Linked DNA regions of Homo sapiens: all the other regions are linked to region 1. The links are contacts of gene promoters, found by promoter capture Hi-C in blood cells and fetal thymus (Javierre and others, 2016). All regions are on one chromosome and are shown on one strand. Each heading gives the region's core, a stretch centred on a gene start or on the middle of the fragment in contact. The rest is flanking DNA. Distances are from core to core; before and after follow the strand shown. Region 1 holds the start of VDAC1 (voltage dependent anion channel 1). Region 2 holds the start of JADE2 (jade family PHD finger 2). Region 3 holds the start of CAMLG (calcium modulating ligand). Region 4 holds the start of FSTL4-AS1 (FSTL4 antisense RNA 1).

What was found. Contacts are between HindIII fragments. The CHiCAGO score rates a contact against its expected background, and 5 or more counts as called.
Region 2: a contact is called between the fragment with the promoter of JADE2 here and the fragment with the promoter of VDAC1 in region 1, in 5 of 17 cell types (total CD8 T cells, fetal thymus, non-activated CD4 T cells and 2 more). The highest score is 6.5, in total CD8 T cells.
Region 3: the fragment with the promoter of CAMLG here is called in contact with the fragment with the promoter of VDAC1 in region 1 in 2 of 17 cell types (activated CD4 T cells and non-activated CD4 T cells); the score reaches 7.7 in activated CD4 T cells.
Region 4: a contact is called between the fragment with the promoter of FSTL4-AS1 here and the fragment with the promoter of VDAC1 in region 1, in 8 of 17 cell types (endothelial precursors, total B cells, M0 macrophages and 5 more). The highest score is 11.8, in endothelial precursors.

Annotation. Positions count from the first base shown.
Region 1 is chr5:134,003,357-134,006,367 of GRCh38, forward strand. It overlaps VDAC1 (voltage dependent anion channel 1), which reads right to left and starts at 1,619. Exons shown (of 9, transcript NM_003374.3): 1 at 1,539-1,619. RefSeq lists enhancers at 343-392, 403-452, 2,103-2,222, 2,293-2,352, 2,393-2,462 and silencers at 683-1,722, 1,783-1,842, 1,883-1,932. The HindIII fragment of the contact is 5,979 bases long and covers 1-3,011 here.
Region 2 is chr5:134,524,073-134,526,934 of GRCh38, forward strand. It overlaps JADE2 (jade family PHD finger 2), which reads left to right and starts at 1,598. Exons shown (of 12, transcript NM_001388185.1): 1 at 1,598-1,939. LOC124901070 (a long non-coding RNA gene) reads right to left here and starts at 1,530. Exons shown (of 3, transcript XR_007058942.1): 1 at 1,394-1,530; 2 at 834-1,011. RefSeq lists silencers at 368-687, 1,268-1,317, 1,338-1,557, 1,688-1,767, 1,798-2,057 and 1 more. The HindIII fragment of the contact is 6,085 bases long and covers 1-2,862 here.
Region 3 is chr5:134,737,058-134,739,832 of GRCh38, forward strand. It overlaps CAMLG (calcium modulating ligand), which reads left to right and starts at 1,491. Exons shown (of 4, transcript NM_001745.4): 1 at 1,491-1,735. The coding sequence starts at 1,564. RefSeq lists an enhancer at 1,079-1,128. The HindIII fragment of the contact is 13,475 bases long and covers 1-2,775 here.
Region 4 is chr5:133,254,989-133,257,883 of GRCh38, forward strand. It overlaps FSTL4-AS1 (FSTL4 antisense RNA 1), which reads left to right and starts at 1,457. Exons shown (of 2, transcript XR_007058939.1): 1 at 1,457-1,530. All of the region lies in intron 6 of FSTL4 (follistatin like 4), which reads right to left. The HindIII fragment of the contact is 11,288 bases long and covers 1-2,895 here.

The DNA of each region.
Region 1 (3,011 bases), core at 369-2,868:
TCTCCCCAGGAGAGGGGAGGCTAGTCAAGGGGACAGGGACCCCGGGCGGAACGGGCTCTAAACCAGGGTCTGCTCCTGCATTCAAGATCTCCACATGCAAACTTACTGCTCCAGCTTGACAATGTCCATTTGTAAACTTACAAGATTTTTCATAAATTAAGCTGAAAGTTACTCAATACCTGGTATACAAATGCTTGTCAATAATAGTGAAAGAATGTTTAAAAACAGGAGCTACATTTATTGAACCCCTTCCACAACGCCACGTGTAGCAAAATGGTCTGCGGGGGATGGGCTGGATTCACCCAAAAAGCCCCAAGGGTGTCAGGGTTTCTACTTAGCCCTTCTCCACACCGGCACTGTTCTAAAGGTTTCATGCTAATTAATTCATTTTATTATTCCCCAAAACTCATCGAAGGAGAGGTACAATTGCTCCCGTCCTATAGATGAGAAAACGAAGGTATGGGGACTTCCCAGCTGTGTGACCTTGTACAAACCACTAAGACTGCGGGCCTCTAATCCAAAGTCAGGCTCCGAAACAGTTTCCAGAATGCACCGCCGCATTTGGCGAATGAATGAACGACCGAACCAGTAATCACTCCTAAGACCAAGAAGGCCACATCCTTCCCCGTGGGGCCTCCTTTTCCGAGGCCAAACCTTCAGCCCAGGCCCGAGCTCCGGCCTCTACCGCCTAAGTCGACTCTCGGCCGGCGCGTTCCGCTCTAGAAGGCTCTGGCACAGGCGGGCGGTGCCGGGCGCCAGCTTCTGCGGGCGTGGGCCGGCCAGGGCGCGTGGGCCTGGGGACTCGGGGCCACGGTCGTCACGTGAGCTCATCCCCGAGGCGGCAGCGTGGCCGGCACCCGCCCGCTGGCCTGGTCCGGCGAGCGTGGGCGGCGAACGGGTCCCCGCCGGATGCACGCTGGTGGGATCCAGGGCCAGAGGGCGCCGCCGGGGAAGGTCACCTAGACGCGCGGCCCGCCGGGCCTCCACGCGGCCGCCCTTGCACTTCCGCCCGCAAGCCCGGGCCGCCTCTCGCCGCCAGCCGCAGGCGTCTCTGGACCCTCGGCCTCGCGCTCCCCAGCCCAGACCTGTTCGGCACCCGCCTGTGCGGCCTTCTCTGCCCGCCCGCTCACCAGCCAGGCCCGCGCCGGCCGCTCGCGATCCCTCCCCGCGGCCGGGCTGCCGGGGCCCCTCGCCCGCTCCTCCCTCAGCGCCTCCCTCTCAGCTCCCCAGGGGCCTGGCCCCCGCCGTCCAGGGCGCAAGGAAGCCGGGGTCCTTTTCCGCTGCGCCTACCTCAGAGGATGTGGCGGCGGGCTCGGAGGCGGCTACGGCGGGGGCTGCGACGCGGAGGCAGGGAGCCGAGCCAGGGAGCGGAGCCGAGCGAGCGGCTGGGCCAAGGGCGGGGCGGCGCGGACGGCGGCGGCGCGGACCCGCCTCCCCTCCTGCGCGCCCGGCCCGGCGCGCTCCGCCCCCAGGCCCCGCCCGGGACAGCGTCCAGGCCGGGCCAGGGTCCCCATCCCGCTAGCGAGCCGCGTTCTTACCCTTCCGGGCCCCGCTGCCCCGGCAGCAGACACAGGAGCCTGCGGGCGTGTTGCGGGCGCGCGGGAGGACCTGCGTGAGTCGGGGCACGGGGAGGCGCCGGACTGACGTGTGCACCGTGTGTGCGTGCGCAGGGACACGCGGGTTCTTGCTGGAAACCTCGGCCCCAGTGGCAGCGCTCGGGAAGGGGGAGGAGGCCTTCCGATTCTCTGAGCTGTGGCCCGGAGGTCCCTGCGCTAATGGAAGACGCGCGGGGCTCCTGGGCCTCCTGCTTGGCCTCCGCGCTGCTAGATCCCCCGGGAGTTGATGTGGCCGGCGCTGGACCCAAGCCTCGCCTGGGTGGACAAAGTGGCCCCCGGCCCCCCATCAAAGCCCGCGTGGGCCCCATCCCCCGAGGGCAGTCCCAGGCCCAGCGCGGACACTGGGCGCCTGGGGCGGCGCAGATACAGAGTAGAGGCGGCGACTGTTGCTCCCGAGCTCCGCGCTCCGGATACAATGTGTCTGGCGCCTCCGACCCGCCCGCGCGGCGTCTAGACAATCTCAGAGAAAACCCCTGTGCGCCGATTTTGCACTACAGATTAGCGATTTTCTCCTGTAGCAAAGCTACTAGCAGCCAATTTCCATGCATTTGAGAGGCAAAAAGACAAAATAAAACAAAACGTGGATTGGGTTTTGCGAGGTCCCTGCTGGGTCTCTCGGCGCGAGGAGATCACGCCGGTTATGGCCGGCCGGCCGACTGAGGGCACCCCGGGTAACCCCCGCGACCAGCCGGGGCGTGTCCTGCGGGACCCAGTTAGTGTGTGTTGAGTGAACGGTCACCTCGCTGCTAGGCCTAAGCGAGTGGTCTCGTTCACCACTGAGTGTCCCCTGTGTTACGCGCGAGGCCCACTCGAAGCAGGTTTCGAGAATTAATTCGTAGATGGACGAAGATTCTACACATCCTTCGCCTTTGATCAACAAACGTCCTGGAAGGCTTGAGGCGTCTAGGGCCCTGTGGAGGAGGTGCCGGGTTACAGAATCAGGACACTCCTCACAGCCAGCTGCGACACTATCTAAAGCAGTGGGCAACTGGGGCTACGGAGGAGGCAATCAGGACTGGCTGCTGGGAAAAGGCGGCAGATTAAAAGTGGCGACTGGAGTTGGAAAAGGTGCTCCAGTGGGATAGGGTGCTGAGGAAGAGGGCAGCTGATACAGAGTGGGAGTGGGGTGCAGACAGGTTACCTAGGCCCTGTGTAGGGGCTGGGGGAGGGGTGACTGGGAATGTAAGGAAGAGCCCCCTTCAAGATCCTGAGGAGTGTAGGACGGATTCTATGACCCTCCCAGGCGCACGAGTTGCCTGGGAACTCTGGGCTTCCCAGCCTGGTGGTCCCCACCCCGCACACTGAGACTGGTGGGCAGGGGGAGGACAAGAACTCAGGGAGGCCGGGCGGGACAAGGCGGGGCTCCAGGAACCCCACAGGGCTAGGAACAGATGC
Region 2 (2,862 bases), core at 348-2,847, 520 kb after region 1:
CAGCCGACCATGAGGGGGAAGAAAAAGTTGGCCACGATGCTTTGGGGATGTTGGGCCAGGCTCCCCACAACCTCCTCCCGAGGCCAGACCCACCCCCTCCCCAGCTAGAGGCATTCCGAGGAGGTTGGAGCTTGACCCCCGATTCCTCCCCAACCAGGAGGCCAGTCCTTCTCCTTCCTCGAGAGAAGGTGAGCTCGGCGGGCGCAGCGGGTTGGGTGGGTGTGGCCCGCGGCTCCGGGAACAGACCCAAGGCCCCGCCACCGCCGGCTAGCAGCCCGACAGCCCGCCCGCCTGGCGAGCGCAGGCTCTTCTTCCAGAAACTGCGAGGATCCGAGCGTACTGTTTGTGCACCACAAGGTCAAGTCGGGAAGTGGAGCCGGAGGAGGAGGGGCGAGGAGGCGAAGGGTGGGGAGAGGGGCGCCCCGCTTCCTCGCCATGTGCCAGCCTTTGGAAGTTACCCCTCGGTTTTTAACCCTTTCGGGGTAATGGGAAGGAAGAGCAAGGAGGAAGGGGTCGCCCCGGGGCAAAATCCTGCTGGGGCCAGGATGTGCAACCACCCACCCACCCGCTCATCACTGCCTTCTCCACCCCCCGGAAATGCGGGGCAGCGCTAGGCGCCAGGAGGCACCCGGGAGGGGGGAGGGGGCGACGAGCCCAATGGGGACCCTCTCTACGGACCGCCCCTCTTTTCTTGAGGTCGCCTACAATTTCAAGTTCCCCCGCCCGGAATGTTAGTTTTCCATTTGGAGTGGGTGCGGGGAGGAGGGCCGCGCCCCCTCCCCAAGACTCGCGTTCGCCCCTCCACTCCCCTCCTGCCAGCACTTTCTGCTCACTTCTGGTGCTGCAAAACGCCACGCAATTTATTCGATTCGCATTTTAAAACCAGCGATTCAGAAGCAGGGCCTAGGGCGAGGGTCTTCCAGCGCTGGAGCCCCGGGGGGCGGGGTGCTCAGTGCAAACCTCGTTCCCTCCGCGAGTGTCGCCTCCAGGCTGTTATTTGCAAAGAAACGTCTTTTTGACGCAGGGAGAAATGGCAAATTTTAAGTACGTCATTAATATGGCGCCAAAAGATTTTTTTAAGTATAAGCTCGCTTTTTTTTTTTTTTAAGGTTGCGGGGGGCGCCGCCCGGGTCTGGGGCGCGTAGGGGGCGGGGTGTGAGCAGAAAGTGTGAGTGAAAGAGTGGAGGGGCGGGGTATGTGTGTGAGTGTGTGAAGTGTGAGCAGACCTGATGGGACTTGCACGGGCGCAGCCGCCGCTCGGGCCCGGCCCTGGGGACAGGGCGGGCTAGGGGCGCCCCAGAGTCCATGGGGAGTCCGGGCCCAGGGTGCCAGCAGGCGTGGTGGTGGGGCTGCGAGGGAGGGCACCCTTCCCCCACGGGGCCCGCAACGCTACCTGGACTCCCCGCCGGAGCCAAACAACTGGGCGGGGGGTTGGGGGGGCGGCGACGGGGGTGTCGGGAGCGGAGATCCGAGTGAATAAGAAAAAAGTGGCTACTCCCCCTCCCTCGCTCCTCCTGCCCGCCCCCACCCCACCCCCACCCCAACACATTTTTTTTTTCTAAAGAGATCACAAGGAAGTCTTGGTTTAAAAAGAAACAGAAACATACACAGGGGGTTGGTGAATGGTGCCGACCGCGGCCATCGCAGTTGGAGGCTATTTTTTGGGGGGGGTGAGTAGCGTCCATGGAGTTACTTTGCGCCCACTCCTAGCGGCACCGGCTTAGGTCCTGCGGGCCGACCGTCCCCGGCGGGGGGCGTGGGGCCTGGGACGCCGCGGGCCCGGCCGCCTCCCTCGCCGCGACCCCGGATGGATGCGCGCCCCCCGCCCTCCCGCGCCGGCCCCAGGAGCTCCCGGCTTCGGGAGCATCCTTCCCGCGCCGGTCCCTGCAGCGGCGCGTAGCCGAGGGCAGCGCCCGTCAGGGGGGCACCGCGGAGCAAGGTAAGATCCAGCCCCCGGCGGATGGGCCCTGCGCATCTCCACGACGTTATTTGGCGTTTTTGCAACAGATCTGCCAGCGCTCTTCGCTCCCTCGCTCTCTCTTGCTCGCTCGCTCCCTCTCTCTCCTGCTGGCTGCCTGTTCTAGGAAGCCAGCGCGGAGAGGGGGGGGATGCACAGCACAGGGGAGAGAGATTGCGCATGTTGGTCAGTCGTGTTTTAAAGAGTACAGTGCGGGGAGGCTGAGAGGGGCGCATGCAACAACAACTTTTGGAAGGGTGAGCTTGGCGACCTTCTTTATTAATGACTGCGGCAAAGCGCCCCCGGGCCGGCGAGGGGGCGCGGGCGGGCGGGGGCGCGCCAGGGCTGCAACTTCCCCGCGGGCTCCGGCCGGGCGTAGGGGCTGCGGCGGGAGATGGGTACGGTGGGGAGGTCGAGCGGCCCGGGCGGGGGCTCCGAGAACCTGGAGCTATCTGCCCTCCTGTCTCCCCGAGTTTCATTTTGTTGATACGCAGCACGTCCGGGCGCCGAACCGGGCTGAGCCGGTGCACATGACCTCGCGCTGGGCTCACGTGCAGCCGGTCCGGTCCCAGACACCTTCCGGGGGCCACCGCCTCCGCCCTGTCGCCCCCTCTCCCGGCCCGGTGCACGCGGGCGCTGCACGCGGGGGCAGCATGCTCGGCTCCTGGGGTTGGAGGCTCTGCACAAATTAGACAGTTTTTTTGGAGGGGCGGGGGACACCCTTTCCAGGTGAGTGTGGAGGGTGCGGAGCCTCGGCGCCAGGGGTGAGGACTGGGGTCGGGGGCAGCCTCCACCTCCGGGGCCGCGCGGTAGTCCAGCTGGGGAGAGGCGCTGGGAGAGTGGAAATGTACCGGCGGCGGCCGGAGCGGCGGGTGCGCGCCCGCGGGGCGACGGCAGGGGGCGTG
Region 3 (2,775 bases), core at 241-2,740, 730 kb after region 1:
AGCCCGACTAATTTTTGTATTTTTAGTACAGTCAGGGTTTTGCCACGTTGGCCAGACTGGTCTCGAATTCCTGGCCTCAAGTGATCCACCCATCTCAGCCCTCACAAAGTGCTGGAATTACAGGCATGAGCCACCGCGCCCAGTCATTTGTTCTGATTTTATTTTATTTATTTCTTTTATATATGTATTTTTGAGACGGAGTCTCCCTCTGTCGCCCAGGCTGGAGTGCAGTGGCATGATCTCGGCTCACTGCAATTTCTGCCTCCCAGGTTCAAGCGATTCTCCTGCCTCAGCCTCCCAAGTAGCTGGGATTACAGGTGCATGCCACCAGGTCAGGCTAATTTTTGTATTTTTAGTAGAGACGGGGTTTTGCCATATTGGCCAGGCTGGTCTCGAACTCCTGACCTCAGGTGATCCGCCTGCCTCGGCCTCCCAAAGTTAGGATTACAGACGTGAGCCACCGCTCCCGGCCTTTTTGTTTTTTTCTTTTCTTTTCCTTTTTTTTTTTTGAGACGGAGTCTCGTTCTGTCGCCCAGGCTGGAGCATCTTTAGCATGCGAGGTGGTCATGAACGACAAGGAGAAAAAACAAGGTGAAGGGGAATGGGGAGTGTTGGCAATTTAGATAGAATGTGCACGAAAGGTTTCAATGGGAAATTCTAATTTGAATAAAAACGCACAAAACGCGAGGAAAGCCTAGGAACACATCAGCCGTATACTTTGCCGTAGAGAAGTTAAGGATGAGGAACAGGCACCAAGAACAAATCCCAGCGTAAGGCTCCCTTTAAGTGCGGCTCCCAGGGTTACGTATTCCCATTGCCTACAGGCGAGGCCGCGGGTCTGTAAACAAGCGACTGCCGCTGCAACCTCCATTTTGCTTCCTGGCACCAAATCTAGGCTGACCTACTTACTGCCATCCCTTTCCCACTCCCGGTTTTCTTTTCTTTCTTTTTTTTTTTCTCGAGACAGAGTCTCGCTCTGTAGCCCAGGCTGGAGAACAGTGGCGCGATCTCGGCTCACTGCAACCTCCGCCTCCTGGGTCCAAGAGATTCTCCTGCCTCAGCCTCCCGAGTAGCTGGGATTACAGGCGCGCGCCACCCCGCCCGGCTAAGTTTTTGTATTTTTAGTAGAGACGGGTGGGGGGAGGGGGGAGGGGGTCACCATGTTGGCCAGGCTACTCTCGAAATCGTGACCTCGTGATCCGCCCGCCTCGGCCTTCCAAAGTGCTAGGATTACAGGCGTGAGCCACCACTCCCGGCCCTGGGTGCTGGTTTTCTTCACCTCCGAGTGAACAGCAGAGGGGGCTGTTGGGTGAGGGCCAGAAGAGTTGGGGAGGCACGAGGGCGTCCAGCGCTGCCCTCACTCAAGATGGCGGCCAGAGCCTCGCGCTTGGTCGCGTGGGGCGGTGCGTGAGTGCTTAGCTCACAGGCTCCGGGACCGCGCTCGGGGGCGGGTCTATAGTGGGAAGGGGACGCGCGCCCTGCGGCCCGGCCTCTAGTCATCGCCCTCGCAGCGGCGGCCAACATCACCGCCACTGCCACCCCTCCCAGACTGTGGACGGGAGGATGGAGTCGATGGCCGTCGCTACCGACGGCGGGGAGAGGCCGGGGGTCCCAGCGGGCTCAGGTCTGTCGGCTTCCCAGCGTCGGGCGGAGCTGCGTCGGAGAAAGCTGCTCATGAACTCGGAACAGCGCATCAACCGGATCATGGGCTTTCACAGGCCCGGGAGCGGCGCGGGTAAGAGCCTCGATTTCCCCTCAGTCTCCCGCCCATCACCTTGAATCTTCAGGGTCATTCTTCCCTCTCCCACCTCCACTCCTCTGACCTTTTTGACCAAGCCTTGCTCTTTGATTTCCTCTCTGTCCCGCCCCTTCGGTGATATCCCAAGTTCTCATCCCTGAACCCCAGGATGTTCCTAGTCGCTCCCCTCAATTTTCCCGGGGCCTCGCCGTGAGATTTTCCCCACCCTGCCTGCAGAGCTCTCACTCCCTCTTCCCAGTTACGTTGAACAGCCCCTTTTTTCCTTAGCCACTCCTCGCCTTTCTTGAAGGGCGCACGTTGTATCCCCAGACTGTCATGTCTACTGCTCCCCTTAGGAAGATGGCTTTCCTTCTTAAGGTTCCAAGTGCTTTTCCTTACAGTGCCTTCTCTAGCGTCTACCTTCTTTTGCCTTTTGCTGTGTAACTCCTGTCCGCCCACATCAGCCTGTCTTTACTGAACTGCCCGCTAGTTCATCCTACGTGTATCAGGGACTCTTGTGCTCATATCCTAGTGTTTGTGTTCAGTGCCGTCAACACTGTCACCTACGGGCCGGCTAGAAAAGGTGGGAAAAGTGAGAGTGAGCATTCTTCAGAGACCCAGCAAGTGCGAAGTGCACACCTGAGAGTTTCCTCTCCTCATGAGGGGATATTGTTGTGATTGATGTCTGGAGCTGCATTTCTAAGGAGAGCGCCTCCTTCCTCCCCCAAACACATGTCCAATGATTTTCTTTAAAAAAAATTTATTTCACGTGAGTATAATTGAGCAATTAGCGCGCCCTAGTGTTATCTAAGTTTCCAGTGTTTCCTTTAGTAATTGGCCTTTAGTCACTGGTCGCAAGCTCCTTATATCTTTGTGACTTTTGTTCTGTAAGGCTTTAGGTGTATAGCTCTGAACTTTTAGGCAGTTCAAATGAGAGGTAAGAAAACCATTTCAAATTCTTCTAGAACAATAGAAGAAACATTTTTCTATCGGGCTATTTATTCTTAAAGCATTATTTATGATCTTACCTGAGGTAC
Region 4 (2,895 bases), core at 207-2,706, 750 kb before region 1:
CCACATGCAGCCCTCTAGGGGGCAACGAGTGGTCCTTCTGGCTCCTGGCTGTGGCTCCAATGCCCCTGTGTTGACTGACCATCTGTGGGCTCATTAGCCACTATGTGGGAAGGTTTCCAAGGTCCCTGGACGACCAAACGTGATATGCCCAGCACTCAGAGTGTGATCAGGGGTCAGTGAGAGAGGGCTCAGCCAGACGCTGTGTCTGGGGTGAGAATGTGTCTACACACTGAGGCTGGTGTCTTTGGAAAGAGAGGGCTGGGTTGGGGGTCAGAGCAGCCCATCAGGGAGCTTGTCTGGCACTACTGGGCAGAAGTCTGTGCCCACAGAGGGACTGACGCCCTGCTATGAGAACTGACATTGGAGAGCTGCTCTGCAAGTAGGGAATCTGAGGAGGGCAAGGGAGTTGGGGGGTTCTCAAAGCTCAGGGCTTCCCATGATATCCCCCTGGGATGAAAACAAATGGGTCACACTGCAGTGATGGCCCAAGTCAGTGTGGGTTGGTTGGCACAAGACAGAGCTTCCTGGACCACTAGCTAGGCTGCGTGTCCCACAGTGGGATTCTGGGCAGGGCTGTCTGGCACTCTGGTGCCTAGCACAAGGCATGGCACACAGTAGGTGGGCTCAAGGCCATGACCTATCTCTCTAGGCCCTTCAAACCAGTGCAGTAGCATACCCTTGGTTTTCCAGACATGAGATGCCACAAACACCCGTCCTCACCTTTCTCCCTGAGTCTTGGAGCTTGGAGAGAAGAGGCAGTCACAGGGAATTAATGGGCTTACCATAAGCAGGCTAACAAACACCCTTCCTGAAAGCAGGAGGCCATAACATTTCAGTTGTTGGAGAACTGGGTTTTAGTTCCTATTACAGGTTTCCCTTAATCTCAGGCGCTATTTCTCACACTGACTTGAACTCGATAAGACACTCATAAACCCATCAGCACCCTCTCAAACAGGATTCTGGTGCTTTGTAGTGATAGAAATTAAATTTCTCAAATTCTTGTCAAGCTGGTGTTAGTTTTCTTATGTCAGAAACACACTAATGGAACACATTCCTACTTGGATATTTGCCATTTTTCAAATGATGCCATTGGTGAAAAAAACCCTGTCAAAAGCTCAGTAACCTGCCTGCACATCAATATTTTTGACTGAGCCTCGGAGGGCAAACTCAGGCTCAGGGGCCTGCTTGGGAATGAGGGCAATTTGGAGAGAGCACAGGCCAGGCGCTTAGACACATCTCTCTAACTGCGGCCTCTTCCCACATTATTCTCCTTCTAAATTAATGTGCTTTCCTGAAACAAACCCCTCAGGTGACCTAGGTGCCACCAAAGAAGCTGGGGCATTGGAGTGACAAAGTCTATTGATCTGGTCCCATCCCTGTGACCAGAGTCACACTGTGAAGTTGGCGAGTAGGGGAGGAGCCAAGGGGGAGTGCGCATGCCCAGTGTCTCCTGAACAAACAGGGCAACATCTCCCGGACCTTGTGACTTTGGCTGGTGTTTACAGAGTGAAGCTGCTTTGGCGTATCCTGGTGAGCCGGGCAAGGCGGGTGGGAGGGATGGTGTGCTTTTTGTCTCCTCTGTTCCGTCTACCAGAGATTGTCACTCTGGGATCCTTTCAAATAACTGCTGAATGTTTGTGGATGGGAGGCTGGGGACAGGATGTCTTAAAGCCTTTCATCTTGACATTCCTGTTTAGAGCACCAGGGTGCATCCAGCCTGCACAGGTGGCTCTGTATTAGCCAGACTTGCTCCAAAGCCACACAAGAGAGCACTTGCATCTGTCCCAAATCTCCTGTTTCCTTACGTGTAACCAGATTCAATCTTCCTGCCATTGTCATTCCCTCTTGCTTGCTTCATTTTGGGGATGGCAATAAAATTACTAGTTAATTACCTGCGGGTCAGTGGGTAATTTACTTTTTCAACTGGCCTATGTTGCTTGATGTTGCTTCAACTTTTATTACAGTTTAGTTATCAAGTTCTGCTCTCTGGTGTGAACAAACACCTTTGTAAGCTGCATAAAGGCAGAGACTATATCTGTTTTATTTATGTTGTATCCCCAGCACCTAATACAATGCCTACCACGCAGAAGGGACTTAATAAGCAGTTTTAAGCAAGTGAACTATTAGGCTAGTGCTCAGTCAACAATTATTTATGGAGCTGGTACCAGGAGCCAGGATACAGTGGGAATATACTGGCAAGAAAAACAGGCCCAGTGCTTGCTAACCTGGAGCTCATGGCTTAGCAGAGAAGACAAGTGTTAAGTGGGGAGGGAGAGCAGAGGCCTGAACCTGTCTACAGACCCCAGGTTAAGGGCCCGTGACTCCTGTAAAGCCTGGTTGCCCTCTTTCTTGGTAGAGCCCTCCCTGTGTGCCTGGCAGACCTGTGTCCTGCTATCGAGACATCCTAGTCTGATGTAGTATCCTCCTTGTTTGCAGGAGGGGCCGGCCTGTGCAGGGGCAGGGTTACCTGGGCATCCCTCTAGGCTCTGGGGTTCCATTTAGCCTCCTCTGGCCAATACACCTTTTTAGTTTTGAGAAAACTAAACCTCAATGTGACTGCTGTGTGCAGACGAACAGGAAGTTAGAGCAGAACTCAGTGCCCAGGGGCTGTGAGATCACCATTCTGGGTATCATGGGGTGCCACAGTGTGGCAGGCAGGAGAGGCATCCATCAGAAGGAGCAAAGGGTCCTTGCTGAGGTGGAGAGCACAGGGCCTCCTGGTCAGCAGGAGCATGGCTGTCACAGTGCTGCATACCAGCTCTTCCACCTCCGCTGGTTCCTGTGTGTGGGGTAGCCTTGGTCAGCTTGGCCACTCTATGGGTCTCTCCCACCCTACTGAGTCTACACCCAAAGATGATGGGCATACCTCTGCTCAAGATATTTGCAAAAGGAGAG